Regions from separate parts of the Homo sapiens genome. Here region 2 is linked to region 1. Evidence: promoter capture Hi-C in 16 types of primary human blood cells and fetal thymus (Javierre and others, 2016). All regions are on one chromosome and are shown on one strand. The core of a region is centred on a gene start or on the middle of the fragment in contact, and the rest is flanking DNA. Distances in the headings are between cores, read along the strand shown.

Region 1 (3,778 bases), core at 349-2,848:
CTCCGATAAATTAATCTTACCAGGGCATCAGTTTGCTTATCTGTAAAATGGGGATAAAATTCACACTTCAAGGTAATTATGAGGATTAAGTACAGTATAAGAAAGCAGAGAGCATGGTCCGTAATAGGCACTCTTTAACAATTTCCCTTTGCTTCCTCCGAAAAACGACAATCATAAAACTCAGGATTTAATCATTAAAACATAAATAGTTACAGATGCAAAACACTCATGTCCCAACGAGCTCTTCTGACACTTTGATATGCAGAATATTTGGCATTTCTTTCTTCTTAATGGAAAAATGCTCCTAATATTAGTAAAAATGAAAATTTTGGGGGAAAAATTATCCACAGTTTCTTTATCTGTGGATAAAGAAAATAGAAACAGCTGCTTCTATTTTTGTCACGGCCTGGCTTTTATACAAAACGGTCACATTTTCCCCACAGTCACAAACAGGGTGTGTTTATCATGGCATCACCTCTTTCAAGGGACTAATAGATTTATTCCAGGTGATAGTGGGAAGCAGCTACAGAAGGAGGATTGGAAGGCTGAGGGGTTGTTAAAGTTATCTGATGATATTGTTCGAACATTTCTCCGGCACAGAAACTCCACAAAGAACTCCTCTGCAGTTTTCGCTACCCAGGGCTGTTTCTTTAAATTGTTTGACGTCAGAGAAGGAATGCTATAGCAACAGTCTGTCAAACTGGAATTAACTCAGAAGAAAAATGGGGGTGGGGAGAGGAAAAATGCTCCCAGGCGGTACTGACTTCAGAGGAAGCAAATTGGATAGATGCATTTATTTTATGACATTTTAAACATAAAACACCCAGATAAATGTGAAAAAAAAAAAAACTCGATTGAGATGCATGTGGTGTTTAACTCATGCAGAGAAGAGCGACTTGGCAGGGATATCTGGAAGGCCTTCCAGTTTTATCAATGACAATAGGAACAATAACTTCCAAGTATTGGCCATTTATTTGGAGGCAGGCTTCGTGCAAACATCACTTCATTTAATATGCTTAGCACCTTTATGAGGCAGGTATCAGTATCTTTATTTTGGCGATGACGAAACTTAGGCCCGAGACGGTACACGGTCCTACAACTAGTGATGGAAGAGCGGGGACTGCAACGCAAGGTTGTGCAACTCTGGGCTTCAGTTTACTTTCTGACATTTAGAATTCCAGAATGGGAAACCTAAATGGGGCCTTTGGGGTCTTCTAGCTCTGCCCTTCGATCCTGCTAACAAGCAAACTGGCGCCTGTCAGCGCCGGAAAGGAAACTGGCCACGCCACTTAGACGGGCGCTACTTAGCAGCGTGCCCCGGCGCCACACCAACAAGAAAACGAAACTGCCCGGGAATGAATGTTTTTCTTCTCCTTCTGGCAGGAAACGAGAGAGAAAATAGGAAGCAGAAGCTGCGCGCGGCGCCCGCTCCCTTCGCCCCCCGCCCGGGCTGCGCGCGCTCCGAGGGTCTGCGCGTCCCCGGCACGTCCCCGCCGGGCCCGCGCGCCTCGTGCCTCGCGCCTCGCGCCTCCAGCCACGTCCCCGCCCCGGCTCCGGCGCGCCGCGGAGTTGGCTGCTGGGAGGTGCGGGACTGGGTGTGGCCGGCGGCTCTGGTCTCGGCTGTGAGCTGCGCTCTCCACGCCGGCTCCGCGCTCCAGGGGCTGCTGAGCGCCCAGCGGACACCGGCAGCGCGCGGTCGACGCGGGCCTGAGCTCCCTCCAGGTAGGCGGCGAGCTCGCGAGCGGCGGCTCGTCGGTGCGCCCCGCGAAGCGATCCCGGGCTTCTCGCAGGGACGTGGGGCGCCGCGAGCCACCCCTGCGGAACGGGGCCCGGGTGACGGCGCGGGGCGGGGCGGGTCTCCCCGGGCTCGGGCGGCCGACGCTGCCCGGGAGGGACGAGGAGGGCGCGCCTGTGTCGCGCCCAGCTGCCACGCGGGAACTGGCCCCACGACCGCCGGCGCAGGCACTTCCCGGGCGGTCCAGACCGCTCGCCCCGGGGAGCGAGGAACGGTCGGCGGTCCAAGTCCTGCAGACCCCCCTGGTTTCTCGTCACTCCCCGAGGCCTCCTTCCAGGAACTCAGAGCACGAGCCCGTGCGTGCCCCCAAAATAACGGGTATTCGGGACTGCCCAGCAGGGCTGTTGGGTGGAGAGTGCTTGGAAGACTCATAAAAGTTCTACGCTGAGTCCAAAATTAGTCCAATGGTTTTGTTTCAGATTTATTTTGGAAATGATATAATGTCCAGAGTTTGGGGATGGGAGGGGATTGATGAATTTTGAATACTTGTGAGTTCAGTACAATAAAAAGTGTTTTGCTTTTCTCTCCACCTTTTTCTGCTTCAGAACACAGATGATTGCCATATACTTTGATATGTATTGCTATTCGCTAAGGGAACGTTGAATTTTCAAAAGTTTGAAACCAGGCTTTCATTTGTTTATACAAGCAATACTTTGTTATTTTTCGTCTCCTTGTGTTCCCTTTTCTCCCACTCCTTCCCTTTCTCTTTCCATAAAGGATAAGGATGCATCTTTCTCCCTCTCAGCCACCGACAAAGTAGCTTGGCGTGTGGCTTAGCGGGAAGTTTTCTTAAAACGTTCAAAATTTAATTGTTGATTAGAACTTTTATTATGAGTCCGTCTCAGTGTTGCAAACAGAGTTTATGACCATTAAGTACATCTTCTAGGACAGAGACAGAACACACGCTACTTAATTTAAGATGGGAGGGAAGTTATTTCTAGTCGGAGAGGAGGACGGCTGATTAGGTGCATTCAAAATTGTGTGCTTCGAGTCTCTGCCATTGTTCATTTTAATACTCTTCAGTTTGGGGCTTTTGGTTTACTACTGATCCTAGGCTCTGAAAATTTACTGTATATTTCAGTATGTGGCTTAAAGACATTTTAAGATTTTCCATGTTGCATTTTGGTTTGTAGATGAATTTGAAACTGAAATAGAAACTTTTAAAATATCATCTTATTGAACGTTGTCAACCCTCTGTATATACATTTATAAAACTGATTGATACAGCTTGTGATATTTTAGGTTGGTTCAACTCTTTGTGGGCCCATAAACATTATTTAGGAAGTTATTCCGAGTCTTTGGCCTTTGTTAACCTGTAGAATTGTTTCTTTTAAACAATTGGCATGTAAGTATGTCAGCACATACTTTTACACTTTAAAAATAGACTCTGGGGCAATTTGAAAATTAAGAATTGGAACTAAGTGTTGGACATTCTTCTGGCCTTACCAAATACTGCCTGAGATGGTGTGATTTCTCTTAGGCATGTTATTGAAGTCAGCTGGCTGTATCATCAGTTTCTTTACCTTGCTGACTATTTTAATCTGCGTCTGTTATGGACTTATTTATTAAAATATCTCTTCTGGGCTGGGGCAGTGCTGTAAGTTATTCTACTTATATCTCACAGTAACACCATTATCTACTTCCACAGGTAAGGAAATTGTCTGTGAGGTTTTAAGTAACTTGGCAGTGGTCATGTAGGTGTTAGGTAACTCAACTGGGATTCGAAGCAAGACCCCTCTGTTTCCAAAGTCCATGTTCTTTCCCCTGAGCCATATTAACTTAGTTCGAGGGCATGAGGAGTGACCCTCAATTACTCATTAGCATGTGTGTAAAATATCCAAGACATGCCAGAAGCATGTTTGTTTTTCCAGCATGATCATTATTGTCTGTCCCATGTTTTTATACAGCTTCTCACATCAGCCATTCTCTTCTCACCACTCTACTCCTAGTTAAATGTCTTGTTCCAAGTTCAAAACCTCCCTT
Region 2 (4,106 bases), core at 284-2,783, 110 kb after region 1:
GAAGGAAAAGAATTAAAATATAAACGCTAAAACCAACATAGATATTAACAAAAACTAACGTTATTTGAAAGAAATTATCAATTTGATGTATCACTGCCAAATCTGTTCAAGAACATAAAAAATGAAAGGACACAAATTAAGGGGAGAATAACTATAGATATATATATAAATGCCAACAAATTGAAAAGCTTAGATGAAGTATAAAATCTGGGAAAACATCAAATACCAAAATTAGACCGAGAAAAAATAGAAAACTCGAATAGGCTAAGTTTCCCACATATTCAAAACTAGCCAGGTCTAGATGATTTTCGGGGTAACTTTCTATTACATGTTTAACGAAAAGATTAATCTTGCCGGGTGCGATGGCTCACGCCTGTAATCCCAGCAGTTTGGATCATGAGGCGTGTGGATCATGAGGTCAGGAGTTCGAGACCAGCCTGTCCAATATGGTGAAACCTTGTCTCTAATAAAAAACACAAAAATTAGCCAGGCGTGGTGGCAGGTGCCTGTAGTCTCAGCTACTCCAGAGGGAGAGGCAGGAGAATCACTTGAATCCGGGAGGCGGAGGTTTCAGTGAGCCAACATCACGCTACTGCACTCCAGCCTGGGCGAAAGAGCAAGACTCAGTCTCCAGAAAAAAAAAAAAAAAAAATTCACACTTATGGACTACAGAGGCAAACATAGGAAATATTAGCTACCTGAGGCCAACGTTGTATTAGAATTATTTTTTTATCCAAGTAGGGTTTTCCTAGGAATACAGAAATCATCAAACAGAAATCAATATAATCCATAATACTGACAGACCAAAGGAGGAAACCCACATTTATCTCAATACATGCAGAAGAAGTACTTGCTAAAGTTTAATATTTATAATAAGTCCTAACATTTATTTTTTATTTGCTATAAGCAAAGCTCTAATATTTATTATTTTTTAAATTATCAACCATTTCTCTTTATTTCCCTTGTTCTCTGCCTATACTTACCCAACTCTTAATATTTAAAGCATGTTGTTACTATTAAAGTATGTGATACTCTTGGAGGAACAAACGATGGAATGTAATTGTGTAAGACACAGATTTACATGCTAATTATGTCCATGGGGAGTTGGTATATGATAAAATTGGTATTATGAATCACTGGGTAAGATAAATTATTTTATCACATTGGAGAAATTGGTTCAATTTAATTAACAAAAATAAAGTTTGAATCATATCTATATACAAATTCAGATGGGTATAAGACCTGAACATGAAAAGTAAAACCAGGCCGGGCGCGGTGGCTCAAGCCTGTAATCCCAGTACTTTGGGAGGCCGAGGCGGGCGGATCACGAGGTGAGGAGATCGAGACCATCCTGGCTAATCCGGTGAAACCTCGTCTCTACTAAAAATACAAAAAAATTAGTCGGTTGTGGTGGCGGGCGCCTGTAGTCCCAGCTACTCGGGAGGCTGAGGCAGGAGAATGGCGTGAATGCCGGAGGCGGAGCTTGCAGTGAGCCGAGATCTCACCACTGCACTCCAACCGGGGCGACAGAGCAAGACTCCGTCTCAAAAAAAAAAAAAAAAGAAAAGTAAAACCAGAAAATTAGGAAAAAACGTAGGAAAATAATTTGGGGACATTTTAGTTGGAGAGAATTTTGTAAAATTAACAGACAGGAGGTACAATGTAAAGGGAAAATGTGATGAATCTATTACATTAAATTTAAGGATTTCTGTTCAAAAAAGTCATCCATAACAGACACATAGGAAATCTATTTTTTGCAGTATATATTGCCAACAAAAATCAATAGTTAAAAATAAAGAACTTCGGAAAATAGAGCAGAAAACCCAACAGAAAAGCAGACAAAGGATAGGGAGAAGCAGTTCACAAAATGAAAGTTAAAATGACTAATAAGCATATTAGATAGTCTCAACCTTGTTAGTAATCAGATTATGCAAATTTAAACAATAATAATGTACTACTTTATGACCTTAAGATTTACAGGAAATTTAAAAGTTGTATGATATTGTTGATAAGCCTGTGCGGAAACATGATCTTGCTGATGGGAGTATAAACTTTAGTCATTCTGCATATATTTTGGAAGTACTGAATCACAAGTATATAAAAAACTGACAAGAACGTGTATGGTAGGTAGCATTATACAAAAGGCAAATACTTGGATACATGAAAGTCAATTTGATATTTAATTGAATTGTAGTTCAGAAAGGTGACAGTTTCCTGCATTATATGGTAAATCTCTTTGAGGTCAAGAACCATAGTTTATCTTTGTATTCCTGAGCACTTGGCTTGATAGTAGATATTCCATAGCTGTTAGTTAAATAGAAGCATAGTAAAATAGTCTTTTTGTTTTGTTTTGTTTTTTTGAGGAGTCTCGCTCAGTTGCCCAGGCTGGAGTGCAATGGCACGATCTAGGCTCACTGAAACCTCCACCTCCCGGATTCAAGTGATTCTCCTGCCTCAGCCTCCCAAGTAGCTGGGATTACAGGCATCCGCCACCATGCTTGGCTAATTTTTCTATTTGTGTAGAGACAGGGTTTCACCATGCTGGCCAGGCTGGTCTCGAACTCCTGACCTCAGGTGATCCACCTGCCTCTCAGCCTCCCAAAGTGTTGGAATTACAGGCGTGAGCCACCACGCCCAGCCTGTAAAAATGGAAGTTTTTAAGGTTAAAAAAAAAAAAAGTTTTTAAGGAAGGGGGTGTCCAATCTTTTGGCTTCCCTGGGCCACACTGGACGAAGCATTGTCTTTGGTCACACATAAAATACACTAACAATAGCTGATGAGCTCGAAAACAAAACAAAACAAAAAATTGCAAATAAATCTCATAACATTTTAAGAAAGTTTACAAATTTGTGTTGGGCCGTGGGTTGGACAAGCTTGTTTTAAGGAGTTGCAGAACCCATGGACTAAGAAAAACTTAGTAACATTACATCTACTGTTCATGGTCATAGTCACACAATTTATTACTACTGAACAGGGATTACAAATCAGAGTCATATGCTTTTGTCCTTTATTTTTTAATATGTTATTTTCTCTAAGTGTTGGTATGACATTCCATAAAAAACACAGAGCACATTTTAACTTTAAAGAAAATTATTTGAAGAGTGGTTGGGAGTTTGTCATGTTTATTCTACCTTAAAAAGCATTTGACTAATGATGTTAGAAGATCATTTTTCTGAAGTATAAACAAGCAGTTTTGTCTAGAATTCTGTATTCTCCAATTTCAGTCATTCATGTATCACCTACCCAATTTTTTCCATATCCATGTATGACTATTATTATTTACTTCATATTTTTCACCAATTTGCTTTTCTTAAAAAGTTAATTTTTTCCTAAGTAAAAATATTCGTGAATCCAAGTGTTATGCCAATTAAATTTTATACCACGTAATTTACAATGATGAAAGTAAAAACTACATACCATATACAATTATTGTTATTATTATTATTAGAGACAGGGTCTCACTCTGTCTGCCCAGGCTGAAGTGCAGTGGCATGATCAATAATAGCTCACTGCAGCCTTGAACTCCTGAGCTCAAGCAATCCTTTCACCTCAGCCTCCCAAGTAGCTGGGACTACAGGCACACACCACCATACCTGGCTAATTTTATTTTAATTTTTTTTTTTTTTTTTTTGAGACAGAGTCTTGTTCTTTCACCCAGGCTGGACTGCAGTGGCGCTATCTCTGCTCACTGCAAGCTCTGCCTCCCGGGTTCGGGTTCACACCATTCTCCTGCCTCAGCCTCCCGAGTAGCTGGGACTACAGGCGCCCGCCACCATGCCCGGCTATTTTTTTTTTTTTTTTTTTGTATTTTTAGTAGAGACGGGGTTTCACCATGTTAGCCAGGATGGTCTCAATCTCCTGACCTCGTGATCCGCCCACCTCGGCCTCCCAAAGTGCTGGGATTACAGGCGTGAGCCACCGCGCCCAGGGCTATTTTAAATTTTTGTATAGGTGGGATCTCACTATGTCGCCCAGGCTGGCCTCAGGTGATCCTCCTGCCTTGGCCTCCCAAAGAGCTGGGATTACAGGAGTGAGCCTGTGGTGACACCCAGGACACAATTATTTTTACATGTTTTTCACTTTTGAGTCTAGACTATATCTCTAAG

Evidence for each region. Contacts are between HindIII fragments. The CHiCAGO score rates a contact against its expected background, and 5 or more counts as called.
Region 2: a fragment that was not itself captured here is called in contact with the fragment with the promoter of GNB4 in region 1 in 1 of 17 cell types (total B cells); the score reaches 6.3 in total B cells.

The regions. Positions count from the first base shown.
Region 1 is chr3:179,449,290-179,453,067 of GRCh38, reverse strand. It overlaps GNB4 (G protein subunit beta 4), which reads left to right and starts at 1,598. Exons shown (of 10, transcript NM_021629.4): 1 at 1,598-1,722. It also overlaps the pseudogene RPL29P34. RefSeq lists silencers at 1,428-1,577, 1,618-2,027. The HindIII fragment of the contact is 16,902 bases long and covers 1-3,778 here.
Region 2 is chr3:179,341,994-179,346,099 of GRCh38, reverse strand. No RefSeq gene overlaps it. Among named protein-coding and RNA genes, the nearest start is that of MFN1, 3.7 kb to the left of the region's middle. The HindIII fragment of the contact is 2,685 bases long and covers 191-2,875 here.